Linked DNA regions of Homo sapiens: region 2 is linked to region 1. The links are contacts of gene promoters, found by promoter capture Hi-C in blood cells and fetal thymus (Javierre and others, 2016). All regions are on one chromosome and are shown on one strand. Each heading gives the region's core, a stretch centred on a gene start or on the middle of the fragment in contact. The rest is flanking DNA. Distances are from core to core; before and after follow the strand shown.

Region 1 (5,755 bases), core at 2,340-4,839:
TATTTTACTGGTCTTTTAAGAATAGGACATATTGGAAGCTTTTTGTATGTTAAAGGGAAAGCATAATAAAAAGAGATTTAAGGCAAGTTATGAAATTGATGACCTATCTTTTTTTGTAATATTACTAGGCTAGAATCACTACAGAGAGTGGGCAAAAATATACCAAAGGCAACTTTCTTACAGATTCAATGACAACCACAATAGATTTTTCACATACTCATGGCCTTATGGATAATAAAAATATTTTGTTATTTTTGATTCTTTATGGGAAGGTCACACAAACAATTTCAAGGATAACTGTGGAGGATTTTATTTAGAGGGTGTTGTAGTTATCTTTAAAAAGGACAAATGAGTTTCATGAGAGAAACCGAAATTAAGTTCCATTAAAATCCTGCTGTGATTTTGATGTGGACCACACTGTCTTGACGGATTAATTTGGAAAAACTTGACTCCATGCAATACTGTGTCTTCCTATCTGGGTGCACTAGATGTCTATTTGTTTTGGTGTTTCCATTAATTTAAAAACCTGAAAAATGTGCCAGAATGAAAAGAAATAGTTATTTTGAAAAAACAAATCATTTCTCAAAAATAACATTTAGATGTAGCTACTATGCCTTTGATCATTTTTGAAAGGAGTGGCTTAGGTTATTATTTATGTTCACAGTGAGATGATCATCTACGTAGGTTTCTGATTTCACCGGTTGTTTAACACAAGCCACTAAAGACAATATTTGGCCTGGTTGTTGGGTCTGCAAAAAATAAGGTTTGTTAATGACAAAATCTAACACAACTTGTCAATGCAAATATTATTATGAAGCCCTGCTGCTTGTATTTAGACCACAGGAGAAAATTATTATTATTCTACAAACCCGTGAAGTTTAACACGCAAAGGCTTGTTACACAGTCAATGAAGAACAGTTGTTTTCTGCCCTTCCATAAATAACTAATGCCAAGAGCAGCCTGGCTATCTGTTTCAGCTTCTTGTTACAGAATAATAAAATAGGCAAGGCCTAAATATCAGTGCCTGTTAACAGAGCTGTCCTTTAAATTCTGTTTAGCTTCTAACAGACTAATTCTCATGCTTTTAGTACTTATTACATTGCATTTTGAATCTGTCAATTGCATTGTACATTTTCCTAACTCTTCCATTTCCATACGTTTATCTACTCCATTTCTAATTGGGTTGGTAGTTCTGGGTAGGACTCATTACAGAGGCAGCTTAATGTAGCGGCAAGCACCCTGGTCTAGGAGTCATAAGCAGTGTAGTAGGAAATTCAGGCTCTGTTACTACTTAGTTGTGTGACTGGACAAGACACTTAACCTGCATCTATTTCTTCATCTGTGAAATAGGGATAATAATACCCTATCTTCCTAACTAATAAACAACGTTGCAAATGTTCTCTTTAAAATGTCAGACAGCTGCTTGGGAAATATTTTGCTCCTGGGCAGTAATTTCTGGAAGGTTTCTGATGACAAGAAATTAAGCAAGGTTTGTTTTGACTCCGAAAAAGGAAAGCTGGAAATAGCGTGGTTATACTTGGTTTCCTTTTTGGAGGTATAGTTCTTCTTTCCTCTTCAACTTGGGTGCAGTTAAATGTGGAAGAAGGTGAGATGTGGTAGGTGATGAAGACAGCCAGAACTGTACACACTAATGAATAGCTTAAGTAATAAGAGATCTTGAAAATCCAAGTAGTTTCTTGGTCTGATAAACATATCTATATGTATATCATACACACATTTGTATACCAAAAAACGGATAGTTTCAGGCTATAGTGATTTCTTTCCTTTATATCTTGTAGAGCTGGAGGAACTTCAGTAAGCTGAAGACTCTGTTCAGAGGAAATTACCTAATTGAAAATGTCTGGGCTAAGAGACCGACAATAAAGGAAACTGGCAAAAGTACTCTTTAATTACAAGTTCTTTTTCATCTTCATCCAGCACACTGATTTATGTGCTACACTGGGTTTGTATTATATCTATATTTTAATTCCACAACTAGACACTAACTTTATTGAGAACAGCGATATTCATTTCTTCAATTTCATTTGTGTTAACCCAACTGTAGGTGATAGTGCTCTGTACATCATAGTTACCCAGTGAATTACGTACCTGACATATGATTGCTTATTTCTGGTATTAAAACAAGATTTCATAAAATAAACATGACAATTAAACTCGTTGTTTGAAGTACTGAACTTTGTAGGTCAATCTTGAAAAAGGAAGCTACATGACTGTCTTAGCAATATTTATAGGTATATTATATGTAAGTGGGTGGGTTTCTTGGAAATTGAATTGGTAATATGGCTTTAGAGTAGTAACACAAAAACTATAGCTCTGTGCTCTCAGCTAACCACTTTTAGTGTCACCTGGGCTGCTTATTAAAAATTCAAATTTCTTATCCCTACCCAGATCAGAATCAAAATACCTGGGGGTTGTAGCTCCAGGTACCTACATTTCAACAAGCACCCCAGATAATTGTGATGCACACTGAAGAACTACTCTAGCTTGTAATCTCAGGTGGTAAGGCATTTTATATATACATATATATATACACACACACAAGCACAAATGGTAATTCTATGGGAAAATGGAAATCAGCAAGTGAAGTGAAATGTCAATTACCATCAGGAACAGGAAGCTAGTTCACCATTACGCATCAGGGAACTGGAAGAATTCTTGAGATTTATTTTTTTGGGTGATATATTCTTGGCAGTTTATCAGGCCTCATTTGCAATTATGGTCTGTCCCTTTTGAAGCCCTCAGATAGTTCGCTGGCATTTTAATTTTAATAGCAATTTCTTGCATCTGTTGGAACAGCATTCGTATGACCGGCTTATAAGCAATGATCAGGGCTAGTAAGATGTCACAAAGCTGCGGTGACTTTTCCTTATCAGTTGGGGGTTTTTTTGCCATGATACCATCGTGGAAATGAAAGACAACGTGAAAATCCTGCGTCCTTGTGATATTTCATCAGTGGGAGTGAGCGGGGATCTTAACGCAGTAAGAGGCAAGATAAACGGATGAGAGGCATTAGTTCAGGCTTACAGGAGCAAGATGCTTTTAGTCAAAGTGTTCAAGATAGCTCTCTTAAAGAGGAGCAGTGAAACCCAAAAATGAGTGTCTTTTGAGGGCAGCTGGAAGATGACCCGAGGGGAACTTTTATCCTGGGGTGGAGTCCTGCGAAGCAAGCCGCAGGTGAGGGCGTGGGCCAATTCTGCGCCTCACTGCTGTTAGGCGCAAGGACATCCCGAAACACACTCAACGACACCAGCAGCGAGACTGACAGAAGCGGATCGCCAGCGGGAGCAACAACTTGAGGCGAGCCGTTAGCCGCCTCGCCTTCCTCGCAGCGCCCCTCCCGCGCCCCGGGAAGCCCGTTCGGCTCCGCCTTTTCGACTGACGTCCCGGGCGAGCGGGGGCGGGCGCGTGGGTGGGCCGAGCCGTCTGCAGCCAGCGATTCGGCTGGCTCTGCCACACCACCGCGCGCCCCCGCTCCGCCCGCCCCTCCGGGCGCGTCTTTTCCGGGCTCGCGCTGAGTCCCGCCTCCGCCGGCTGTCCGGGTGCGCGCGCGCCGCTGCGGCTTTTTCTCTGGCCTCCGCCGCGCGCTCCTCCTCGTCCCAGCGCTAGCGGGCACGCGGTTCCTTTTTGCGAGCTTTCCGAGTGCCAGGCGCCGGCCGGCTGCGAAGACGCGGTGGGCCGCCCCTCCGGTGAGTATCCCTGGATGGGGAGGTTGCGGCCCCGGCACCCCTGCCCTGTCGGTACCAGGGCCCCATTTCCAGAGGGGGACTGGCGTACCTCACCTGAGCCGGGAGGAGGTTGGGTGGGCATTCCAGCTCCTGGAGTCGGCTCGCTTTTTTCCTTGAGCCAGGGCTATCTATCCGCTCGCCTCCGCTGGGGCCGGGAAGATTCCCGAGGTCACTGTATCTGCTCCTGTGATGGACTCTGGGGTCCTCGGAACCCCAGCCTGCCTCTTCCTGCCGCTCACCGCATCCCGAGGGCCAGAAGTCATCTTCCTGATCGGGGTACTAGGCTTTGCCACGGCCCTTTCCGGAGGAGACCATGAAGTGCTTGCTAGACCTCCAAACGACCTTTAGGGTGCCCCTAAACCTCAACTCCATTTTGTCCCCTCCCAGTCGCTCTGTAACTGAGGGCTAGGGAGCCTCTCTAGCCCTAGAGGCATCCGCCCTCTCGAATTTGAGGGATGCCGTCGCTTCCGATATCTTCCTTGCTTCCGATATCTTCCTAGCTTCCGTAGGCTTAGGTTTGTTAGAAAACAGCTGGATCCTGGCGAAGCGTGCTTTCCTTCCTTCCCCCACCCCCGTTCTTTCTGTCTACATCCCTGCCTTCAGTGGGTGCTATATATTTAGTATGAGCTTTATTCACTTCCTCTTCCTCTCGTTTGAGTGCCTGAAAGAACTGTGGCTGATGTCTATAGACATAGAAAAATCTAGGAGAATATGATTCATTGTCTAACCCCATCAAGGGGTTACATATTTTAAATAAGACGTCATTTCTCCTCTTCACTCCAGCATCTCCTCCTTCAAAGGCATTTTTCACCCTCTTGAAATTAATACGCTCTATTCGCTCTTTTCACCTAAAAAAAGGTCAATCGTCGCTCTGAGAAACAACAGTGAGATGCAAAATAAGGGTAAAATGGCATTGAAATGAATCCCTTTGAAAAAGTAAGCGGTTTGCTTTATCAGTTAATGGTCTCATCAGCGCTTCAGTTTCCTCTTCTGCAAAAATCAGTCTGTTGAACTAGAGCATATCAAAGGTTCCTTCTAGTGTTTTGATTCTAGGACCTCTAAATTCATGCAGGCTGCATAATGCAAATTTAACCTGATTAAAGCCTTATTTCTCATAGTCGCTTGTCACCTTAGTTTTTCTTTTATTTTGTCTCTAACAAGAAAGACTTTTAAATGTTCTTGATACGTAAGGCAGCAGGTGGAGATTCAATGATGGTACTGCCATTGAGCATATCGGTCAAGATTTTAACAGTGTAAGGCCTCTTCCTTAAATTGTAAAATAGCTCATCTTTTGATTGAAACTGCTAAAGTGTAAGACATGTAAGACTCCTGTTAGAATTAACACTCTCTGCCATTTAGGTGGGGGATGAAACATTAAACTGTTAGTATACTTGTACCTTAGAATAAAGTACCTTATTGTCCTGCTATAAGAAATAATTTGACAACTAAAAATCCATGGAAGGTGTAATACAGCAATTGAAAGCTTGAGTAAATTCAATTTTGTGGGTTTTTTTTTTTTTTTGGAAAACCCCCTATTTAAAAACACAAGTGATTTAGATTAAGATATTTCTTTCAGTATTTTTGGTAGGGGTGAGATGGGTGAAGAAAGAAGAGTCTTGTTCAATTCAGACAAGAGAAATGAATTGGAACTCTGGAGAGGCTCAGGTTCTAGACCCAACTCTAGATATATATTTAACCTTGAACAAGTCACTTCACCTCTCTTAGTTTTTGCATCTGTAAAATAAGTGTCTTTATGGTTGTTGAAATGATCCACAAGTCCCCCAATTTGAATGATATATTCTTATAATGAATATATATGACAAATATATATATACACACGTGTATATATAGGTATACACACACACATATAATGCAATTTGCGTTAAGGCTGTTATAAATCCTGTTATACCAGTTGACTAGAATGTTTTTCTCAAAGGTTTGTGTATAGTGGTTTCAATTTAGGTATACTTAGTTCTTAATCCTGATTAAATAAATAATTATATGTGAAA
Region 2 (6,162 bases), core at 3,500-5,999, 2.9 Mb before region 1:
TTAGAATAAATTGAGGATTTTTAACAATATGAATTCCCATAAATTCGAATTCAGTGAATCAAGGAGGGGGTGACATAGTCTGCATTTTGAACAAGCATTGAAAGTGATTCTGAACAAGCATTGAAAGTGATTCTGTTGAGACAAACATTCTTGATATACCATGCTGCCTCTCAACTTCTCTGAAGTGATTGGAAAAGCAATCAGCCCATCTTCTTCCCATATGGGCCAGATTCACTCAATAGAAGTGGTCAGCTGTGGTGACATTTTATTCCCAGCTTATACAATGGAGTGGAGAGACTAATGGGCAACAATAACAGGGCTGGGGTTTAGGGCTTAACAATGTCTTGCCAGGGATCTTGATAGGGGTAGTTTCTAACCAGCTGAGAGTGTGAGATAGAACTCGTAGCCAACCAGCTTATCACTGAAGATGATGGCACCTGTCTAGCCAGAATAAGAACTGAGATGAAGATCTCTCATTGGTACCTCACTTTTAAAATCATAGGATAGATGGGGAGCTCAAGGAGCAGCATCTTGGGGAGAGGGAAGGAGAGAGAAGCTCATATGAAATTTGGGGAGGTTATTCCAGTTCCTACCTTTCCAGTCTCAAACTCTGGAGAAAGGAAATAGCCCAGGGCCTGATGTGGAGGTTCTTTTTATGAGCTCTCTTTGTCTCTGCATGGTCAAATATATTTATTTAGAGTTGATCATTTCAAAGTTATCAATTGCTCAGTTAGTCCTTTCTCTCCACTTAGTCTCTGGCTTCCTGCCTTTTAATGCCTTACCTGCTTGTGAGCATTCCCACCTCTGGATGGAGAGATGCAAATAAACACATAAACTCACCCAACACAGTTTTGCTGGTCTTTCTACCCCAAACTAAAAAAGGAGGGAAGGAAGAAGAAGGCCCAGAAAGAAGTTCAGCAAACATGAAATCTGAGGAATTTGAAATAAAAGACACAAGTCAAAAGAGAGATCTTCTTAGAGTCACCAAGATGAGTGAGTACATCATGAGATGATTTCAGGCACAGGAGAACTCAGAGCACTTCTCATAATGGAGATAGCCAGAGGAGAAGAAACCCCTGAGGGAGACAGGTAGCAGAACATGAGGAGAGAAATGTTTGGGGAGTAGCAGTATTTTTTTTTTTTTTTGAAGCTTTGTCTGAAACAGAAAGATCTAGCATGGTCAGGCTGCTTATATACCCAACTTGATATAAGGAGTCACATCGGTCCAACACGTTTCTCTGGAGCAGGACTCTATTTACCCACTGGAAACATATGCCTGCATATCTCATTCATTTCCTAGGGAAGTCTCAACTCTGAGTAAGATGTATTTGTAACAGGATTGGCAGGAAGACAATGCACACTGTCTGGGGGCGTGAGGAGAAAGGCCTGTTCACGTTCCTTTGCCAACACCAGTGCCAAGAAAGCTGCTCTTCACAGACCAGTCCTAAACCAGCAGTCTTGCAGGCATGTTTCCCTCAGCAGCTGTTAAGTCACTGACTCCCTTTCTTACCACTTCATGTTCTAGTCTTTAATTTGCTTACTGTTTTGCCTGTACCCTCTTACCCTGGGAAAGGCAGTGCTTTCCTTAACTCAGAAGTTGCACAACAAGCTCAAGTGGAAACAAAAGGATTTGTGTCTTTTTCTGTGGGTACTGGGGAGGAGGTGATACAGGAAGGAATAGCTTTGTTTTTCTCCACCAAGAGAAATATAAAAGCAACGTTTCACTTTCATTGATACTTCATTGTAAGTGCCCATACATTAGTAGGTATACAAGAAAGTGAAAAAAGTGAGAACAAATGATTAAAGGCTTGGCAATTGGACACCACAGGGAGAGGGAGAATGCTCATTATGGGGAAAAAGGCTAAAGGTCTCCTGCTAGCAATCTGAGTTGATGAAGGGCTCTCATTTGGAAGATGGTGGCTAGCTGTTCTCCATTACCTCTGAGGACCCAACAAAAGGATCTGGCCTTAGGTTGCAACAAGAAAAGTTTATAAAGGCATATAACAAATTATTTATTGACGGTGAGAGTTGTTAAGCTACTAAGAGATATTATAGATTTCCCTTTCCTAGAGTTCTTTAAAAGTAATGGAGATAACCATTTGCCATGTATGGTTTAGGTGGGTTTCCTGCATCATATAGGTTGAGGTGACTTCTACCCACGAGGCTGTGCTAGAATGGCTAGCATTATCTCTAAAGATGAGCAAACATTAGGCTTTAGTAAGGATAGCAAATTCAGAACAGAACTCATATTTTTATCCTATTTATTACAACTTTCTGGCAACATCCACTGCATCTCATACAACCAATCTCGGAAACAGGCTTGCGGCCCATCTAGCAGATTTAAAAACCTGAGGAATGAGGGATAATGTGACACCTAAAGAGAGAGGTTCAACTGCAATCCTATCAATGCCTGGTAACTTGACCACTCTACAAGAGCATCAGGGTGAGTTCTTGGTTCCTGAAATCCAGTGTGGCTGTTTGGCTGGATATTCCAGGACAGGGAAACAAAGCTGTTACATACATGAAGTATACAACAGGAATTAAGATAGAATAAAATATAGCATTGTTTGTGATTTCTAGTTATGTAAATATAAAGCGACTTAACCGGTTTCTGGGAATGAACTTGGATTGCTTTGGAGGGTTGTCATGAAGGAGATTACTCCATTGCAGGTGGCATAACTAAAAGCATTTTCTAGAATACACTTCACTGTCCACCACATGTGAACATAAAGCAGTGTGTGAACAGACTCCATGTGCCCTGCAGCCTCTCTATCCAGCCACAAGGGAAGTTGGGCTGAGACTCATATTGTGTTCAGAAGCTATTAAGTAATTGGATCTCTGAGATCTCTTTCTTGATTGCGTTCAAGTCAAGTCGATGATTTAGAAAGGTTTGCATTTAAAGTGTATAAGCTTCATATCTTCAATGTTTAATTCCATAGTCACTTTTAACTTTATATTGTTTGAGTCCTGAAAAGAGAATATTAGAGAATTATCTGTGGCAGTGATTCTTAACCTGCTGTCCACGGATTGTGCTAGCCCACAACATCTCTAGTCCTAAATAGGGTGACCATTTCATCCAAGGTTTTTTGGGACTTTCCTGGTTTTATCACTAAAAATTCCACATCCCAGGAAACCCCTGAGTCCCAGGAAAACTGACATAGTTGGTCACCCTAGTCATAAATGAAATAAGGACTATGCGTTTTTCCTAAAGTTGAAAGTACTTCATCTAAATTCTGAAGGACAATGAGTTTTTCTAAAGCTAAACACATTTAATTTAAATTGAATTTTGAGAATTTGTCTTCCTATGTCTTGGCTTCAAAACGTCGCTTTTAAACTGAAATCATGGTGACAGTAGTTGATAGTATTGTAGTTTAATTTAACAGCTTCATTTGTCACAGGTGAGGACAACCATATATTACAACCCCTCCCCTCATTTCTACTGTAGTCACGGCACTACACAGAGATAGTCCGTTCCTCTGCCTTAAGTTCTCTGCCCCTCCTACTGGTTGTTATATTGGGACTTTTTAAAAAATTTTATTTTTCCATAAGTTATTGGGGGTACAGGTGATATTTGGTTACATGAGTAAGTTCTTTAGTGGTGATTTGTGAGATTTTGGCGCACCCATCACCCGAGTAGTATACACTGCACCGTATTTGTAATCTTTTATCCCTCGCCTTCCCCCCAAGTCCCCAAAGTCCCCAAAGTCTATTGTGTCATTCTTATGCCTTTGCATCCTCATAGCTTAGCTCCCACATATCCGTGAGAAATATGATGTTCAGTTTTCCATTCCTGAGTTACATCACTTAGAATAATAGTCTCCAATCTCATCCAGGTCGCTGCAATAATGACTTCTTTTTCTCTAGGCAGATACCCAGTAGTGGGATTGCTGGATCAAATGGTAGTTCTACTTTTAGTTCTTTAGGGAATCTCCACACTGTTTTCTATAGTGGCTGTGCTAGTGTACATTCCCACCACCAGTGTAGAAGTGTTCCCTGTTCACTGCATCCATGCCAACATTTACTGTTTTTTGATTTTTTGATTATGGCCATTCTTGCAGGAGAAAGGTGGCATTGCATTGTGGTTTTGATTTGCATTTCCCTGATCATTAGTGATGTTGAGCATTTTTTCATATATCTGTTGGCCATTTGTATATCTTTTTTAATAATTGTCTATTCATGTCTTTAGCCTACTTTCTGATGGGATTTTTTTTTTCTTACTGATTTGTTTGAGTTCGTTGTAGATTCTGGATATTAGTACTTTGTCAGATGTATAGATTGTGAAGATTTTCTCTCTCTGTGGGTTGTCTGCTTACTCTGCTGACTGTTCCTTTTGCTGTGCAAAAGCTCTTTAGTTCAATTAGGTCCCCGCTATTTATCTTTGTTTTTATTGCATTTGCTTTTGGGTTCTTGGTCATGAAATCCTTGCCTAAGCCAATGTCTAGAAGGGTTTTTTCAATGTTATCTTCTAGAATCTTTATGGTTTCATGTCTTGGGTTTAAGTCCTTATTCCATCCTCAGTTGATTTTTGTATAAGGTGAGAGATAAGGATCCAGTTTCATTCTCCTACATGTGGCTAGCCAATTATCCCAGCACTAGTTGTTGAAAAGGATGTCCTTTCCCCACTTTATGTTTTTGTTTGCTTTGTTGAAGATCAGTTGGCTGTATTTGGGTTTTTCTGGGTTCTCTATTCTGTTCCATTGGTCTATGCGCCTATTTTTATACCAGTGCCACGCTGTTTTGGTGACTATGGCCTTATAGTATAGTTTGAAATCAGGTAGTATGATGCTTCCAGATTTGTTCTTTTTGCTTCATACTGGGACTTTTCATCTCCAGGTGATGATGTCCATGAGGGACATTCGGAGTTAGTTTTGACTACAAGTGCTGAGATTGAAAGAAATTATATACTTGCCCTGATGGTGTTTGCACTATGTCTGGAGAAATTGGGTTTCCTTCTGTCTTCAATATTTTTTGAAAATCTCTATGGGAAATCATGGAGGCTTTTAATTGTAATACTTTTGGGGTAATACTGTAGGGGAAGGCTTCAGGTAAAAGAAAAGTGAGAAATTATGGCTTTGCCGTTGAATCACTGTGTACCCTTGGGTAGGTCGCTTGTCTTTCTGAAGCCCAATTTGCTCATTTGTAAATTTAGGATAATATCTTTCTTACTAACCTAAGAAGACCGTTGGGCAGAGCACATATAATAATGGATTTGGAAGGGATTGTGATGACACAGCTAATAACTGTTTGTCAGCTTGTTTCCTCTCCTCCTCTGGCCTGGGCTGCTTCATCAGGAAATGAGTCTGTAATGGAGGGCTGCTTGCACTTTTTGTAATCTTACAAACTCTAATACAACAAGCAGAGGCATTACCTCATTGCGGCCAACCATACCTGCTGTCTAACAGCAATTACTCAAAACTAGTTCCACTTCTCCCCCTGTTGCCTTTCAATCCCTCATCACATCTTTCTCTCATTTCTCCCATTCTCAGCCACAAAGCCTAATTCCCAGGGGCCCAGCTCAGGGCACTTTCTTCCCAAGCCCTAACATTCCAGAGTAAGCACCTGCAATTTACGATCTCTGCTCCCTTCCTGCACAAAACACGTAGCACAAAATACATATGTATCAATAGGGGAATTGTGGTTGAGTAAAAAAAGAGCATTATATTAAGAATCAAATAACTGGGCTCTGATCTGGCCAGTGTACCTCACTAGCCCTTCACCCTTGAGTAAATCACTTCCTCTCCATATTCCCACCTGTAAAGTCATGGAGAGGGGGTAGTTTAACATTGTGTGGTAGAAAAGTACTGGCCTAGGCATCTGCAGATCAGGTTTCAGGTTCTGATGTTGCTGCTTGCTAACTTACTCTGTGACTTGAAGAAAATCACTTCCTCCTTTACTGGGCAAAATTCTCCCATATGTAAAACAAGAAGGTTGGATTAAATGATTCATTAAGTTCCCTACCCATCTGGAAATTGAATGATTCTATGAAATGGGTTTCACTAAACAAACTTGAAATGGACTGCCTGCTCTGTGTCAGGCACTGTTTGACAATGGTTGTGAAAGGGCTCATGACTGAGACCCTGAGACACTTAGTGCCTCTGCTGCTTGTTCCTGTCAGTGTCTAAAATTGGCAATGTGGCGATGACCCCATACAGCCAGTTCCTG

Evidence for each region. Contacts are between HindIII fragments. The CHiCAGO score rates a contact against its expected background, and 5 or more counts as called.
Region 2: a fragment that was not itself captured here is called in contact with the fragment with the promoter of ACSL4 in region 1 in 1 of 17 cell types (non-activated CD4 T cells); the score reaches 9.0 in non-activated CD4 T cells.

The regions. Positions count from the first base shown.
Region 1 is chrX:109,731,091-109,736,845 of GRCh38, reverse strand. It overlaps ACSL4 (acyl-CoA synthetase long chain family member 4), which reads left to right and starts at 3,589. Exons shown (of 16, transcript NM_001318510.2): 1 at 3,589-3,707. It overlaps LOC105373311 (a long non-coding RNA gene), which reads right to left and starts at 4,335. Exons shown (of 1, transcript NR_158569.1): 1 at 1,888-4,335. RefSeq lists silencers at 3,327-3,636, 3,734-3,854 and enhancers at 3,977-4,116, 4,177-4,226. The HindIII fragment of the contact is 5,191 bases long and covers 41-5,231 here.
Region 2 is chrX:112,672,646-112,678,807 of GRCh38, reverse strand. The region is part of intron 1 of LHFPL1 (LHFPL tetraspan subfamily member 1); the gene reads left to right. Among named protein-coding and RNA genes, the nearest start is that of LHFPL1, 4.2 kb to the left of the region's middle. The HindIII fragment of the contact is 3,674 bases long and covers 2,913-6,162 here.